Regions from separate parts of the Homo sapiens genome. Here regions 2 and 3 are each linked to region 1. Evidence: promoter capture Hi-C in 16 types of primary human blood cells and fetal thymus (Javierre and others, 2016). All regions are on one chromosome and are shown on one strand. Each heading gives the region's core, a stretch centred on a gene start or on the middle of the fragment in contact. The rest is flanking DNA. Distances are from core to core; before and after follow the strand shown.

The links. Contacts are between HindIII fragments. The CHiCAGO score rates a contact against its expected background, and 5 or more counts as called.
Region 2: a contact is called between a fragment that was not itself captured here and the fragment with the promoter of HAL in region 1, in 1 of 17 cell types (endothelial precursors). The highest score is 5.4, in endothelial precursors.
Region 3: a contact is called between a fragment that was not itself captured here and the fragment with the promoter of HAL in region 1, in 1 of 17 cell types (monocytes). The highest score is 5.8, in monocytes.

The regions. Positions count from the first base shown.
Region 1 is chr12:95,993,853-95,998,849 of GRCh38, forward strand. It overlaps HAL (histidine ammonia-lyase), which reads right to left and starts at 2,492. Exons shown (of 21, transcript NM_002108.4): 1 at 2,226-2,492; 2 at 1,812-2,139; 3 at 1,081-1,141; 4 at 946-973; 5 at 238-312; 6 at 74-146. The coding sequence starts at 2,058. It overlaps LOC102723340 (a long non-coding RNA gene), which reads left to right and starts at 2,630. Exons shown (of 4, transcript XR_945237.4): 1 at 2,630-2,778; 2 at 4,479-4,575. RefSeq lists enhancers at 2,705-2,874, 4,099-4,393, 4,840-4,899. The HindIII fragment of the contact is 1,685 bases long and covers 939-2,623 here.
Region 2 is chr12:95,570,162-95,575,158 of GRCh38, forward strand. No RefSeq gene overlaps it. Among named protein-coding and RNA genes, the nearest start is that of USP44, 21 kb to the left of the region's middle. RefSeq lists an enhancer at 3,964-4,093. The HindIII fragment of the contact is 646 bases long and covers 1,567-2,212 here.
Region 3 is chr12:96,256,883-96,261,879 of GRCh38, forward strand. It overlaps ELK3 (ETS transcription factor ELK3), which reads left to right. Exons shown (of 5, transcript NM_005230.4): 4 at 2,849-2,971. Among named protein-coding and RNA genes, the nearest start is that of ELK3, 65 kb to the left of the region's middle. The HindIII fragment of the contact is 1,623 bases long and covers 1,381-3,003 here.

The sequences.
Region 1 (4,997 bases), core at 1,242-3,741:
GACATTATGCAATTAAATGCAGGGATTTTTGTTTGTTTATAAAAATATTTATAACATAAAGATAAAAAGATACCTGTTTTCTCTTTTATGATGCTATCTATGACCTCCCTGGATTTCTGCACCCTCTTCTCAGCTGTTGGGGTGAGCTAGGAAAATGTTGATCAGAACTGAGCACGTTAAAGACTTCCACGGGCAACAAAAATGGCCAGAGGACATCTTTCCCCTCCCTCCCCATACCTTTATTTTGTAGCGTCCCTTTCCCAAGTTGACCAGATCCTCCGTGGTCAGACGGTCTCCATCTAACTCGATGTACTACACAAAAGAAGGGGATCTCAGTGAGTCTGAACAGCTTGATTATTCTAACCAGAGTAGGGACACCTCCAACAGAACCAAACTGACATTTCAGAGATCTGATCATTGCGTGAAACATGAATATGCTAAATAAAAATGCATCTTGCATAAGAGGAGGCTTATTGGTGCAAAAGCATAATGCCTTTCCAAGCCCCCTTTCCCCACTACAGAGCTGGATAAAGCCCTGTGGTTGGTTGGTTTGTTTGTTTTGAGGCAGAGTCTCCAGCCCAGGCTGGAGTGCAGTGGTACAAACATGGCTCACTGCAACCTCTGCCTCCTGGGTTCAAGCAATTCTCGTGCCTCAGGCTCCTGAGTAGCTGGTATTACAGGTGCACGCCACCATACCTGGCTAATTTTTGTACTTTTAGTAGAGATGGGGTTTCACCATGTTGGCCAGGCTGGTTTCAAACTGATGACCTCAAGTGAACTGCCCACCTCGGCCACCCAAAGTGCTGGGACTACAGACATGAGTCACTGCTCCCGGCCAGCCCTGTTCTAATTGACAGTGTTTTCTCAGAAGTTTTCCTGGCTTTCCTCCCTCTTAAATAAGGGGCCTTAATTTTCTGAAGAAAAAGAAAGTGGTTTGAAGCTTACCTTTTCAGGCTCCCGGTACTTGCTGTATCTGTATCCAGGTAAAGGAACATATAGGGTGGTGTGGAAAAACCCCCAGCCCCACCATCTGCAGGAGCCACCCCCAGAGCAGACCAAAGAGCCTGTGGGAAAGGATACAGATAAACTCCTTCTGGTTGAGATGGAATGAAGTCAGGAGACATGGCATCACCCTCTATAACTAAAACAATGCACGGGAGACTCGTTACAGATCACATTGTACAGCCATGTTCCCCCTGTTAAACCAAGGAACGGCCCATCATTGGCCCATGAATTCTATAGAAATGGCTGCTTTAAAACTGCTTCAGATGGTTTCATGTGGTCTTAGCATCTTTATGTAGGAGGAGAGCAAAAAGCAGAAAGGTAGGTGTCAGGGCAGAGACCAGGGGTTTAGATGAAAGTTCAAGACAGAATTCCACTTCCATCCCCATTCCCAGCTTTATTTTCTTCAAAATCTGAACTGATGCTATGCTGCCGGCCTCCAGTCTGGGGGTGGGGGTGGATTCTTTCGAAAGGCAAAATAACCTCAAAATGATTCAGTCACTGCAAAGGGATTCAGACCTGCAGCCTTGAGTACCAGTCTAGTCTTTGTTACTTACTAGCTGCTGGAGTCTGGGTAAGTTACCTCCTCTCTGATTTCTCCTCCATCAGAGGTGGAGGAGAATCCTACCCATCTCACAGGGTTGTGTGAGGACTTAAGATCCCCAGAGGCGTGGCATGTGCCTGCACAGGGCCAGCCTCGGCAAGCCTGACCTCTGCTCATCATTTTCCCTGAGGTGGGGGTTCAATGCTGCAAAGACTAAGCCAGGCCAAACCGCACCCGTTCGCGGCCCTCTCCTGCAGCCACTCACCCACTTCCACGAACTCGTTGTTCTCTAGGGCCACCTCGAGCCGGTCCTCGTTGTCCAGCAGGCCCAGGCCCTTGCACCGGCGCACAAGGAAGTGCGCGTCATCCACGGAGGTGAAGCCACCATTGTCGGGCTTATTCTTGATATAGCGCCTCACGGCCTCCCGGCCCAGCCAGCCCACAGTGAGCTGCGCGTCCTGGCAGGGCACTGCCAGCCATTCCCCACGTACGTGCACCGTGTATCTGGGCATGGCTCCGCTGCAGCCTGAGGTCCTCAGCTGGTCACAGGAGGGGAGAGCTTTATGCAGGAGTGGCTACCGGGGTGTGGTCAGCTGGAAGGATGAGAATAGACTTTCAAACCACTCCCCCTCCTTCACCTTTACTCATTCATGCATTGGACAAATATTTATTGAGGTACCTGCTGTCCCTTTGGTTTTTGTAGCCGAGCAGGGGCAGGAGCAGGGGATGCAGACGGGTGAGCCTCCTGTCCACTTTCCATCCAGACCTGCTGCCAGAAAGGCCTGGGGTCTCCCACCCTGGGAGGTGCTGTTCTTGTCCCTGATGGCACCTACCTGCTGCTGGCCCCCTTTCTTCAGGGTCCCCAATTTCTCTCTCTTCCCTCGTTTCTGTCTGTGTTCTCTGCCATTAAGGGCAGCTTATAAACACCATGTTCCTGTCTTTATCTGAGATTACTCAACTGTAAAACGTGTTCTGTGGGCCAACTGTGACACTGGGAGTGTGGCAATCGTCACTCATTTGTTTATTCCACAAACATGTATTGAGCAACTACTTCCTGTCACCAGTAAGGTTTTCTGAAGCTTTCTTTCCACCAGGGAAGACTGCAAAGGCCAGAGATCATTTTCACAACTAAAGGTCGTCATCTGGGCAAATGAACCACTCTGACTTGGAGATTAGGGGCTCAGACAGCCGTGGATGAGAGTCCAGCTCTACTACTTATTAGCCTTGATTAGGTGAGTATTACCCTGTATTTCCTTATCAGAAGGCCTAGGGGCTAACTGCCTCCTTCCAGTATGTGCAGGATTTACCTGTGATCAAATCCTGGCTCTGCCATTTGCTAAGTGTATGACTTGTGGGCAAGTGATTTGACTTCTCTGGGCCTCAGTTGCCTCATCTGTAAAATGAAGATAATGGTAATGATGATAGTATATATGTCAAAGGGCTATTGGGAGGATGAAGTCAGTTCATATATGTAAAGCCCTCAACACAACACCTGGCATAGTGGAAATATTATAGAAGTGTCTGTGATTACTAGTATCTGGACACCAATACTCCATGTAACTATAATGCTTTATAAATGTTCTGTATGAATCATAAAGCTATAAAGTTCCATAAATGCTCTTTCATCTTGGCACATGGATATCCCTCACCCAATTAAGCTTCTTCACCACAGATAACTGCTCCCTGCACCCGCCTTATTACCATTGGTATTAAGGAACTCTGGATAGCATGATTACGGCATCAAAGATATGCAGATGCTATTTTGACTAAGCAGCACTTTCATCGTAAGCCAATTTTTAGAGATTTGATTATTGCACTAGAAAAATCCTGAAAAGTCTGTTTCCACTAAATCAGACTTCTGTTGGGAAGAGAGACATGGTTGCTCAAGAAAAACACCTATACTCATACCCAGAGTCCCTCTCATCTGCTGACAGCTTCCCAGGAAGCGTACAAATAGCTACCCTTCCTTGAGCCTTATTGAAACTTGCTCTTCAGATACCCACACCATGACTGCACCCTGGAATTTGTCATGACCTGAATTTGACACACTTAAGAAATCACCCTGGAATCTGTCACGACCTGAATTTGACACACTTAAGAAATCTGAAATTCCAATATTCCACCTTCTGACCACAACCTTCCAGCTGCCCTTTTACTCTAGTCACTGCCAGCCTTGGACCTGACCTCCAGTCAGTCTCTTCATCCCTCCACTTCCCACCAGCATCCTCACTTACTATCCTAGGAAGCTGGTCCCTAGTCGCTCACTGGACCACTCTTTCTTAAGCACTCTGAGATTCCTTTGCATCCCTAAACTTATGTCTACACTTGGAATAACACCCATCCCCTTAGTCATCACAAAAAACAGCCATCTCTTGGAAGGATTGCTTAAGCCTAGGCAGTCAATGCTGCAATGAGTTATGATTATACCACTGTACTCCAGCCTGGGTGAGAGCAAGACCCTGTTTAAAATTAAAAGAAACTGTCATATCTGTTCACCCAGGCAGAAGACACTGATAGAGAAAGTCCTGTGATCACATAGTTTGATGGTATTGCCCTTTTATTCCATCCAGCCCACAGTGACTTTCCAAAACTTTGACCCCTCTGCCAGGACCTTCTCGACATCCACCTCTAATTCTCAGAAGGAGACCTTACTTCCTACATCTGTGAGAAAACTGAGGACTGCACATGTGAACCACCTTAACCTTCTGCCCCACCCCCCCCCATTCATTCCTTGACTCATTTAACAAATATTTTTTCAACACCTGTTATGTAACAAGCTCTATGCGAGGTGCTGGGGATGAAATAAATAACAAACACGCTCTACATTCATGAGGCTTACTGTCTGGTGATGGATAAAGCTGTATAAAGATGACTAATAAGAGGTCTAACTATCTTCATGCTGCAAAACAACCCAAACTACTGCATGCTCCAGTTGACTGTCACTGCCGAGACCAGCTTCTGAGTAATTTCAGCCCAGGCATCAGACTAGTGAGGGAAGGAGCTTCCAGGTGATACCACCTCCCAGCCATGTAAGTCACCCCCAGCAGTTTGAGGATTCTAAACTCAGGCCCTACGCATTGTGGAGCAGAGTCTTCCTTGTTATTCTTTCTCCAGAAACGCACTTTCCAACTTCCTTTGCCTGTCTAGATCTTTCTTACTCCTTAAGCCTGTTTAGGCCTTTTCTTCTCCAGGAAGCATTCCCTAAATTCTTCAGTTGGGTTAAGTGGCCCTTCTCTGGGATGCCTTAGCATAGCTCTTCTTTAGTATTATCTAGGAAATTACTTGTCTGTGTTCATCCATAATTATGTATATATCCGATCTGGCACAAAGACATTTAGCATATGCTTACTAGCTGAACTGAAGAAATGTGAACTGCACCGAGCTGGCCCCTAGGTAAACCAGCAAGCAGGATTAAGTTTGTCTTTAGCGCCCTCTACCTTCTTCACAGCAC
Region 2 (4,997 bases), core at 640-3,139, 420 kb before region 1:
AATGTATAGTCTTTGATTTGATCATTTAATGTACCCTTTTTTACACAGCCATTTGGCTTTAATCCTGTAACAGGTTATTGTCACTTGTCTTTTCTTTATCTACCAAAATGCCTTCAGTCATTTCATGAATAAATCAATGGAGGGAAGAGAGAAATATGAGTTATCCCAAAGATATATTAATGGCATTATTCCAATATAAATGGAATGAGGAAAAGAAGAATTATGCATTAGTAATGATGTTTTTCATTGCAGAGCAATTTCTACCTCGCAAAGGATTTTCATACAGATCCTCTTTCTTCATACTTAGCATTATATAGCTGAGGAAATTATAGTATTAAGTGACTTGTCTGAAGCCACACAGCAAGCATCAGATCTGGAATTAGAAAGCAAGTCTTCTCATGACCAGCCATTGTTCTTTTATAGTTTACCTTATAGATGGCATGAAAGTGACTTTTTTGTGGAATAGTTATTACAACTTCTCACCCCCCAATGTATCTACTTGTGAAAATAATGGGTTTTTTGTTTTGTTTTGTTTTGTTTTGTTTTGTTTTTTGAGACGAGTCTCGCTCTGTCGCCCAGGCTGGAGTGCAGTGGCGCGATCTCGGCTCACTGCAATCTCTGCCTCCCGGGTTCAAGCAATTCTCCTGCCTCAGCCTCCTGAGTAGCTGGGATTACAGGCGCCCACCACCACGCCCAGCTAATTTTTGTATTTTTAGTAGAGACGGGGTTTCACCATGTTGGTCAGGCTGGTCTCGAACCCCTGACCTCATGATCCGCCCGCCTCGGCCTCCCAAAGTGCTGGGATTACAGGCATGAGCTACCACACCCGGCCTGACTTACATGTTAAGGTGTCCAAATTGATTGAGATGTTCTTCTATCATAATTTATAGAATCTCTTCTACCATAATTTACTTCTTAACTGATGACCTTGGAGAATGAGCAGAATAACAGATGAGAAAGGGCTCAGGGAGAAAGAGAAATGTATATGCTCTCACTGGGCATGGTAGCTCATGCTTGTAGTCTCAGCACTTTGGAGGCCCAGGCAAGAGGATTGCTTGAGTTTAGAAGTTTGAGACCAGCCTGGGCAACATAGCAAGACCTCGTCTCTACTAAACATAAAAAAAAAAAAAAAAAAAAAAAAAAAAAAAAAAAAAAAAAAAAAAAAAAAAAAAGCTGAACATGGTGGCACGCCTGTAGTCCCAGCTACTTGAGAGGTTGAGATGGGAGGATCGCTTGAGCCTGGGAGATCAAGGCTGCAGTGAGCTAAGATTGCACCATTGCACTCCAGCTGGGTGGCAGAGTGAGACCCTATCTCTAAAAAAAAAATGTAAAAAAGAGACCGAGATGTATGTGTTCTCTACACTACTCATTATAAGGATGCAGGTGGGGATCAACTGGTTTATAAACAAGGTTTTACTTCCTCTTCCTGATCTGAACTGTATCATCATTTCCTCTATCTTTATTTGATGTGAAATGTATTGATGGTCATATATCAATTTCTTCTGTAGACTCAGTGATACAGGAAGTGTCCTGGTAAGCACTGGCACCCAAAACAGTAAAGATAAAAGCTTTAGTCTGAATTTTGCAGTTGGGAAAGTTGAAGTTGAGGGTGAAATGACTGAGCCACAGTGGGTTACTTAGCTTCCTGATACCAAGGCAGAGCTGTTTCCTCCAGGATTTGGTGACTTAGTAACCTCCTCCTGTTACTAGAAATTTCTCCTTTAGAGAAAACCAAAATTTGCTTCATTGTGATATTTACCCTCTGGGCCTATGTTTGCCCTCCAAGTCTGCATTGAACAAACGACTTTCTCCTTGTCTCCCCTGCATATGTCTTATGCAGCTTAGGGTCAGAAGTGGATTTGATTTCTGAGGAAACATCACCAACCAAGAATCTTTTTGTTTTTCCAGATAGAGGGTTTTGCTCTGTCACCCAGGCTGCAGTGCAGTGGTACCATCACAGCTCACTGTAGCCTCACACTCCTGGGCTCAAGTGATCTTCCCACCCCAGCCTCCTGAGTGTCTGGGATTACACGGGAGCCCCACCATGCCCTGCTATTTTGTTTTTAAATTTTTGTAGAGATGGGGTCTTGTTAGGTTGCCCTGGCTAATCTTGAACTCCTGCCTCAAGCGATCCTCCCTCCCCAGCCTCCCAAAGTGCTGGGATTACAGGTGTGAGCCACTGCACCTGGCTGTCCAAGGGACTTCTAAACAAAGCTTATTTTTGTTATAATAAAAACAAATGAAGATTAAGCAATCTAAAGACAAAGCCTCCTGAGTAGCTAGGACCACAGTGGCCCATCACCATGCCCAGCTAATTTTTGAATTTTTTGTAGGAACAGAGTTTCTCCATGTTGCTCAGGCTGGTCTGCAGCTCCTGGGCTCAAGCGATCCTCCTGCCTCAACCTCCCAAAGTGCTGTGATTACATATATGAGCCACTGTGCCTGGGCTAGTACATTGTGTTTTATCTCACTCTCTCATCTCAGAGGGAGGCTGAGGTAATTTATGCATATACACATGCACACACCCCATTTGTTGGACATCTACAATGTTCCTAATCCTTACAAGTTAGATTTTATTATCCCCATTTTACAGATGAGGAATCTGTGGTTAGATAACTCTTTAAAATCACTCAGCTAGAAAGTGGCTACAGTGGCATTAGAACTAAAAATTCCCATGGGATGAATGCCTTGGCTTTAAGTCCTTGCTCTTTTCACTGTAATATGCTGCGTGTCTGATCACATGGAATATTTGTGGTAAAGGTAAGAAACTTCAGAAGGCCACAGAACTAGTTTTGGAGCTGGAATCAGTTTTATGTTGTCTTGATTTTGTTCCTATTTGCTTGTGTAGTTTGCTAGATGTTACTTGCTTGAAAAGAAGTATCAATTGGGCTCATTTTTCCCCAAGTCCTTACAAACAGTGGTGCCTGTTTGATGCTTTGATTTAAAAAGAAATTGATAGTACCTTTAAGACTGTATGGATGGCAAGCTACTCCAAGGCTGGACTACATCTCTAGTTTCCTGAAAATGATTCCTCTCTAGGATTTACAGTTTGCTGGCTTTTAAGACATAATAGAAAACACAATTCTCTCCTTAAGCCCTGCAAGTCCTTGGCCGGGCGCAGAAGCTCACACCTGTAATCCCAGCACTTTGGGAGGCCAGGGCGGGGGGATCATGAGGTCAGGAGTTCAAGACCAGCCTGGCCAACATGGTGAAACCTCGTCTCTACTAAAAATACAAAAATTAGCCTGGCATGGTGGTGTGCGCCTGTAATCCCAGCTACTCAGGAGGCTGAAGCAGGACAATCGCTTGAACCCGGAAGTTGCAGTGAGCCAAGATTGCTTCATTGCACTCAAGCCTGGGTGACAGAGTGAGACGAGACTCTGGCTCAAAAAAAAAAAAAAAAAAAAAAAAAAAAAAAAAAAAAAAAAAAAAGCCTTGCAAGTCCTGAGGGGGCCCAGTGCTAAGACAAACGGATATGGTCATTTTCCCAAAAGGTTAAGGAGAATAGTTAGGTACAAGAATACCACACACCATCCTCAAACGGACAGAATTTTTGCCAGATACTGTTAATAAGTCAGATTTAATTGATAGATGGGTAAGATCTGAAATAACAGTCAGTCAAAAACAAGGCCTTTATTCTTCAAATCATTCTAAACTCCAAACTTCCCCCAAATGGCTTGAGATCACATTAAAGCCCAAACCTTCCATTTCTAAAGGAACAGAAATACATCGCAGTTCCCCGAATTCTCTTTCCCTTCAGCGTTGCCTGTCTACTCAGTTTAGACTGTTCTGAACTATCAGGCTCCGGGGTGGTGGCAGGCTCTGCTCACCCCAAGCTTTCCATTTTGATCAGTTTAATTCCCTAGGAGCCGACGACTGCCATCGGAAGGAAGAGAAATTGTGAGCTCGCGCTGGGCTGCCGGGGAGGGGAGGGCTGGCCAGTGAGGACTCCTATCTCTGGGGCTGGTCACCCAGCCTCAAACAAATCTGCATCACCCTGGGGGGTCTCACCCCTTTTTCTATGTCAATGATCCCCATTTGTCCCAAGTGCTTGGGGTTTCAGGTCCTGGTGAGCCATTCTCATTTATCTTCCTTTTGTTTTCTGCCTTAACTACTGACAATTATCATTTATTCTGTTCCTTTTAGCTTGGTGGTGAGTGCTGAGGCTTTGCTAGCCTTTCAGTTCCGCCATTCAGCCTCTTTCTAAAAAAAAAAAAAAAAAAAAACTGGGGCTTACCCAGTCTCTGACTAACAAGATGTCTTAGAGTTGGAGGGGATTTCTCAGTCCAGATTTTTCCTTGAATTTTCTTCCGTGTCAGAAAAGATTTAAAGACAAAAAAGTGCTCTTCCAATGGTGGCCGTGAGTCAGATGGCCCTGAATCAGATTTCTCCCTCTTCTTTAAAACCTTATTGAGGATCTTTCTGTCCTCAGCAAAATGCACACAATTTTAGAGGTTCACAGACCTTCTCATCTTTTAGACCTTTTTGAGGTTCTTTCTGTCCTCAGAAAAATGCACACAATTTTAGAGACTCACAGACCTTCTGATATCCATGAATGTACTGTCTCCAAATTAGGATTCCTGCCTGCGCTAGCGTACTTCTGGAGTTCTGAGATCTGATCTAGTATGAAGACCTCAGTAGTGAATGTGGCTTTTGAGATGGAATAATCTGATTTCCTCTCAGTTTTCCATAATTTTCAGCCTCACATATCAGAAAATCTGGGAGCACTGTGTGCCATGGCATGGGAATATGTAATTACTCTCCAACTGGCTCTCATATTTTCCTAGAACATCAACACCAACACTCTGTTAATTCATAGCCTTTTTAGAGGAAGTGGAGCTCCAACATTCCCATTCATTGCATGTGGCAGTAAAGTGACCTCTAGTGGACTTTCCTGGTAGTTTATAGAAAATTCTGGAATAAGGAGCTGTCAATTGTGGGTAGAGGGACAGATTATTGAAATCAGATCTGCTGGGCACTGAAGTTTATTTGGCTGC
Region 3 (4,997 bases), core at 942-3,441, 260 kb after region 1:
GGCGAGCTCAGATGTGCAGGCTTTTTAGGAGACTCTATGAAGTGGAAGTGGAAGATGAACTGAGTGGGGAAAATGAAAAGGGGATCTTGGGATGAGGGTCTTACTCTTTGCAAATGCATTGCCTGTGGCATCTCCTTTCCCAGCAGCCGTGGGATCAGGAGCTCCTTATCTGCCATGCTTGTTAAAACGAGACTGTCTTTGGGGAAGGAAAGAAAACAGCACTTTTTGCTGTGGCTTCTTTAGCCCTTGGCCCTCAGGCTCAGCCCACTCTGCCTGACTCCAGGAGCGTGTGGAGAGAGGCTGTGAAGTCTCACACTGTCCCGGAGATAACCCAGAGCAGGTGTTATAGGAACTTTCCTTAAAAAAGCAACCACATGGTTCTTTAAGGCCACAGGATTTTCAGGGAGAACTTCAGGGATAGAAGGGAGAGGAGGGAATGAAATCATTTTACAGTGTTTATTTGCATATATTATAGAAGACATTTCAGACATATTAAAGATGAGAAACAAGAAGGCTACAGTAGTCTGAGTACATCCTGTATTCCTAAGAAACAAATGTGCAAACATCTCAAATCCAGACATGGGTATACGTTTTAGACCAGAGAAATAGAAATTCTAGACCTTGTACATTGCTTAGAGGATTAAAAAGGAATGGGCATATGATGGCCATGGAGGAGAGAAGGATAGCTGTGTTTTGTGGTTTAGAAGATTGTCTCTTTAAAGCTTTGAGAGCCTTCATTGATGGATAAACTAGGAGGCCTTGAACACACTGGTTATTAAATGTTAATGTGACATATTGAGGTTGGAACCTTGCTCCAGAGTAACATGCAAATATTAGTTTTCAGAACACCTGAGCTTGTGGCCTTGAGCCTAACACAACTGACAGTAGCCTCCAAGTCCAGGCTGACTCAGTTGAGTTGGTCTGTTTCAGAGGATTAAGTCCTTCTCTGTATACAGTTGAGAATTTCTCCCTCACATAGATGAAGTACGTTTAGTAAGTATGTCATGTATACTTTCAATTAATTACCAATCCATTTATTCATTCAAAAACATGTATGAAGTACCTAGCCAGATAACTGCCTCTGGCACTTGTTGAGCATTTCTATATGCCAGGCACATATCTTATAAGAGCTTGCAGTAGATCAGCTTATTTAATCTTCCCAACAACCCTGTAACGTGGGCATTTTTATTCTCCCCATTTTACAGATGAGGCAACTGAGACAGAGAGAGGTTAGGTGGCTTGCCTGAGGTTACCTGGCTGGGAAGTAGTGGTTCTGAGATTGGAACCCTGGCAGAGCTCATGCTGAGCCGTGAAGTTTTAACTGTTAGGCCAGATGGCCTGGCATGCTTGTGAAATTGCCTTGGACTAGAACAAATGGGAAGCTTATTCAAAACATGTATTTATTCTAGTAACCTCATAGGTCATTCAGTATGTAGGAAATGCCATGGAACCAACGACTCAAATAATTTGGTATAAATGTGTTTACATTTCAGCAGCTTCACAGTTTGAGGAACTTTGGATGTTTGTCTCCATTCTGCTGAACAGAGCAGACCTTTCAATTTAGGTTTAAGCCAAATGCTGTTGGTAATTAATGATGCTACGGAGGCCAATTCTAGGAAAAAATAACACTTTAGCATCCAGCATGGTGCAGTCTGAAAGGCTGGCGCCTTTGCTGTGGTTCTTCTTACACAAAGCACCTTATTGACATCACAAAACCACTGAGGGACTCCTTCTAGTCACCAAAGGTACAAAACCACCCTGGGCCGGGGAGTTTGTCTCCACTGAGAATAAAAGCCATGCAGACTTAGCAGCTGGGCGGGTGTTTCTTCTGCCCTCCTGCTGGCTTGCAGGCCAGGACTCCTGCTGTGTGTGTGCAAGAAATTCAGTCCTTGGAACTCCCCTGGGAAACCCAGGGTTTTGGCTTTATACCCAATCTGACAAGAAAGGGCCCTCCCTGCCCCCACCCAAACCATTGCCAGGGCAATGAATTCTCATCAACTCCACATCCGGAAGGAATCTGGAAAACCCGGCTCAGAGCTTCTGAAGAGGCTGCTACAGGGTATTTTAACAGCAAATCCCAAAGCCTTAACAGCTGTTGATATGGAGACCATTTAAAAACGTGTGTTCGTAACCCAAGTAATAGATGTCCACTGTAGAAACACAGGAAAATATAGATAAGAAGAATTAAAGCCCCTTTATGGGATCCTATTTTGTTTGTATACTAATCCTTGTTTAATCTGGGAAGGGGAACAAGTTAACAAACCATTCGGACGAAAGTTGATACAAACTTGAATTTTCCACCAGAATGTTTAGGGAAGGTAATGTGTCAATACCTTTTTCCTTTATGAAAAAAGTGTTAATAAAATTAGCATTGAAGAAAACTAGCCAGCCAGGTATGGTGGCTCACGCCTGTAATCCCAGCACTTTGGGAGGCTGAGGTGGGCAGATCACTTGAGGTCAGGAGTTCGAGACCAGCCTGGCCAACGTAATGAAACCCCTTCTCTACTAAAAATACAAAAATTAGTCGGTGGTGGGTGCCTGTAATCCCAGCTGCTTGGGAGGCTGAGGCAGGAGAATCGCTTAAACCCAGGAAGTGGAGGTTATAGTGAACCAAGATCGCGCCATTGCACTCCAGCCTGGGTGACAGAGCGAGACTGTCTCCAAAAGAAAAGAAAATTAAAATTAAACTGTTCACAGCCCCTCAGAATTAACGTTGCCAGTTTTCCTGAGATGGTAAGGTCGTTTCCTGGCCCATGCCTAGCCTACCTAACCTCTCTCTGCTGCTCTGTTGATCATGGCCCAAGTCAGGTGAACCTATATGAAGAAGTCTGTTTGCTTTACTTCCCAGACACCAAATGGATTGCTTCTGACTCCGAGTCCACTGCTCTCCAGCATACATTTCTGGAGCAGCCTTAGTCCAGTTGCTCCGCTGAGTCCTGCCAGGCTGCAAGGGCCAAGCACGCTGTTCCAGGTGAGCGTTTGGAAATGAACTTTTGAACATTAAGCTTCTGAGGGATGGTTTTTTCTCTAAATCCTGCAGAGGTAACGGTGAGTTTTGCCATATGTTGAGTTGAAATATTAAATGTCCAGAGGGGGTTCATGTTAGTGGGGTTGCACGCCCTTCAGAGGCAGACATTTTCATTGAGGCAGAAATTGCAGACTCATGCCAGACACCCATACGTGGAACAATTAGTTCTTAAAGTGTTTTGCATATTTTCATTTGTCTATGAAAACAGGAAATTTATTAAGGAAAAGGCAAAACTTTAAGAATTATTCTTTAGGCCAGTGTGATGGCTCACACCTGTAATCCCAGCACTTTGGGAGGTTGAGGGTGGGAGGATTGTTTGAGCCCAGGAGTTTGAGACCAGCCTGGGCAACACAGCAAGACCCCATCTATATTTAAAATAAAATGAAAATAAATATTATTATTTATAAAAGTCCACAAAAGACTTTAAAATATTAATCCTCCTAGTTAATGTAGCAACTTGTTTGACATAAAGTGAAAATAAAAATAGTGAACAATTTCCCCATCCTGGGATAGAAAAATTACTTGCATCATTTTATGAATCATCATTAAGTTCTCCTTGTTCTGTAATGAAAAAGGAGAATCCAGGGCATTTGGTTAAAAAATAATGAAGACTTAGCTGCTTTATCTTATAGAACTCTCCATACTAGGCGAGCACCTTCATTATTCATTCACACACCAGAATCTTGCAGGACCGTCACTTGCTATCATGGAGAAATCAGTATTTCCTCCTTGAGACCCATAGATCATTACTCACTGATTAAGGTGTTACTGTTTGAATATGTTGAGTGCAGGTGGAAAGAATCCTAGGGACAGGACTGAAGAAAAGGTGGACCCAGTGCAAACTCCCTCTTTCCCAAATTCTAGCTTTTCTCATCGTCCCTGCCTGTATCCTGTGCCCCACAGTGTGGCTTACCCCAAGTTAGTTGCAGCTCTTTGGATACCATTTCATCTAGCACGTGGCACTTTGTATTATGATTGCCTGTTGATCTGGCAATCTTTCTCACTAAACTATGGGCCCTCGAGACCAGAATGGAATCCTGTTCACTGTGGTGTCCCCAGCATCTGGCACATGGCTTGGTACACAAGTGAGGCTCAGTAATAATTGACTGTCTAAATGAATTCACAAAGAGAAGTCTGAGAAAGGCCAGTATTAATAGCAAGTCTTCATGATCATCTGAGCTGGTCATTTTGCTTGTCAAGGTTAATGTCTGCTGAGTACCTCCTCTGTGCCAGGAGCTGTACATGCTGGGATTCAGGGTCTCTTTGTAAGGGTGGAGCTAAAGAGGTTTTGATTGCCATCTTGCTTCTTTGGTTTCCTAGTGGAGTTAGGGTAGGGTGTCATGAAGTGACCATATCCTTGGAGTAATTGGGTTTCTATCTCTTTCACAGCCCTTATTCCCATCACAACAACTTGAGCTATAGTCATGTTGATTTTTAACAATTTCAGCTTGGGTAGGAAAAGAGAAACTAGAAATAGCAAAAAGCAATGAGCAAATGTTGTATTAGGAAAGTTTAAAATTAGGAATACTAATCTTTTGGTGGAGAGATAAAAACACCTCATTTCCTGAAAGTCTTAAGATTAGAGCAGCAGAATTCTAAAATTAATAGAATAGAAAGAAATTGTTTGGTTACAGTAAACTCCATGGCAGTAGGGATTGTTATACTACTCTAATCCTAGAATCTAACACAGAGCTTCTGTAGAGTTCAGTAGGTATTTGTGAATAATAAGTGGCCTCTCATTTCTCTCCTTACTGGGAATTCTGCCACCTGATTGGTGCAGGCCTTGGCAACCTCCTAGGAAAGCAATGGAGCACTATTGGCTGGGGGTTCTTTGGGATTCCTTGTCTTAGATACCTTTTCCAGCCCAACACTCCCAACAGGAAATGATGGTTCATGTCTACAGTGATTCGACACGTTATCAGGATCTCTGGGAGTTGGGATACGTGCATCCGCTCGTTTCTTCAGTCCT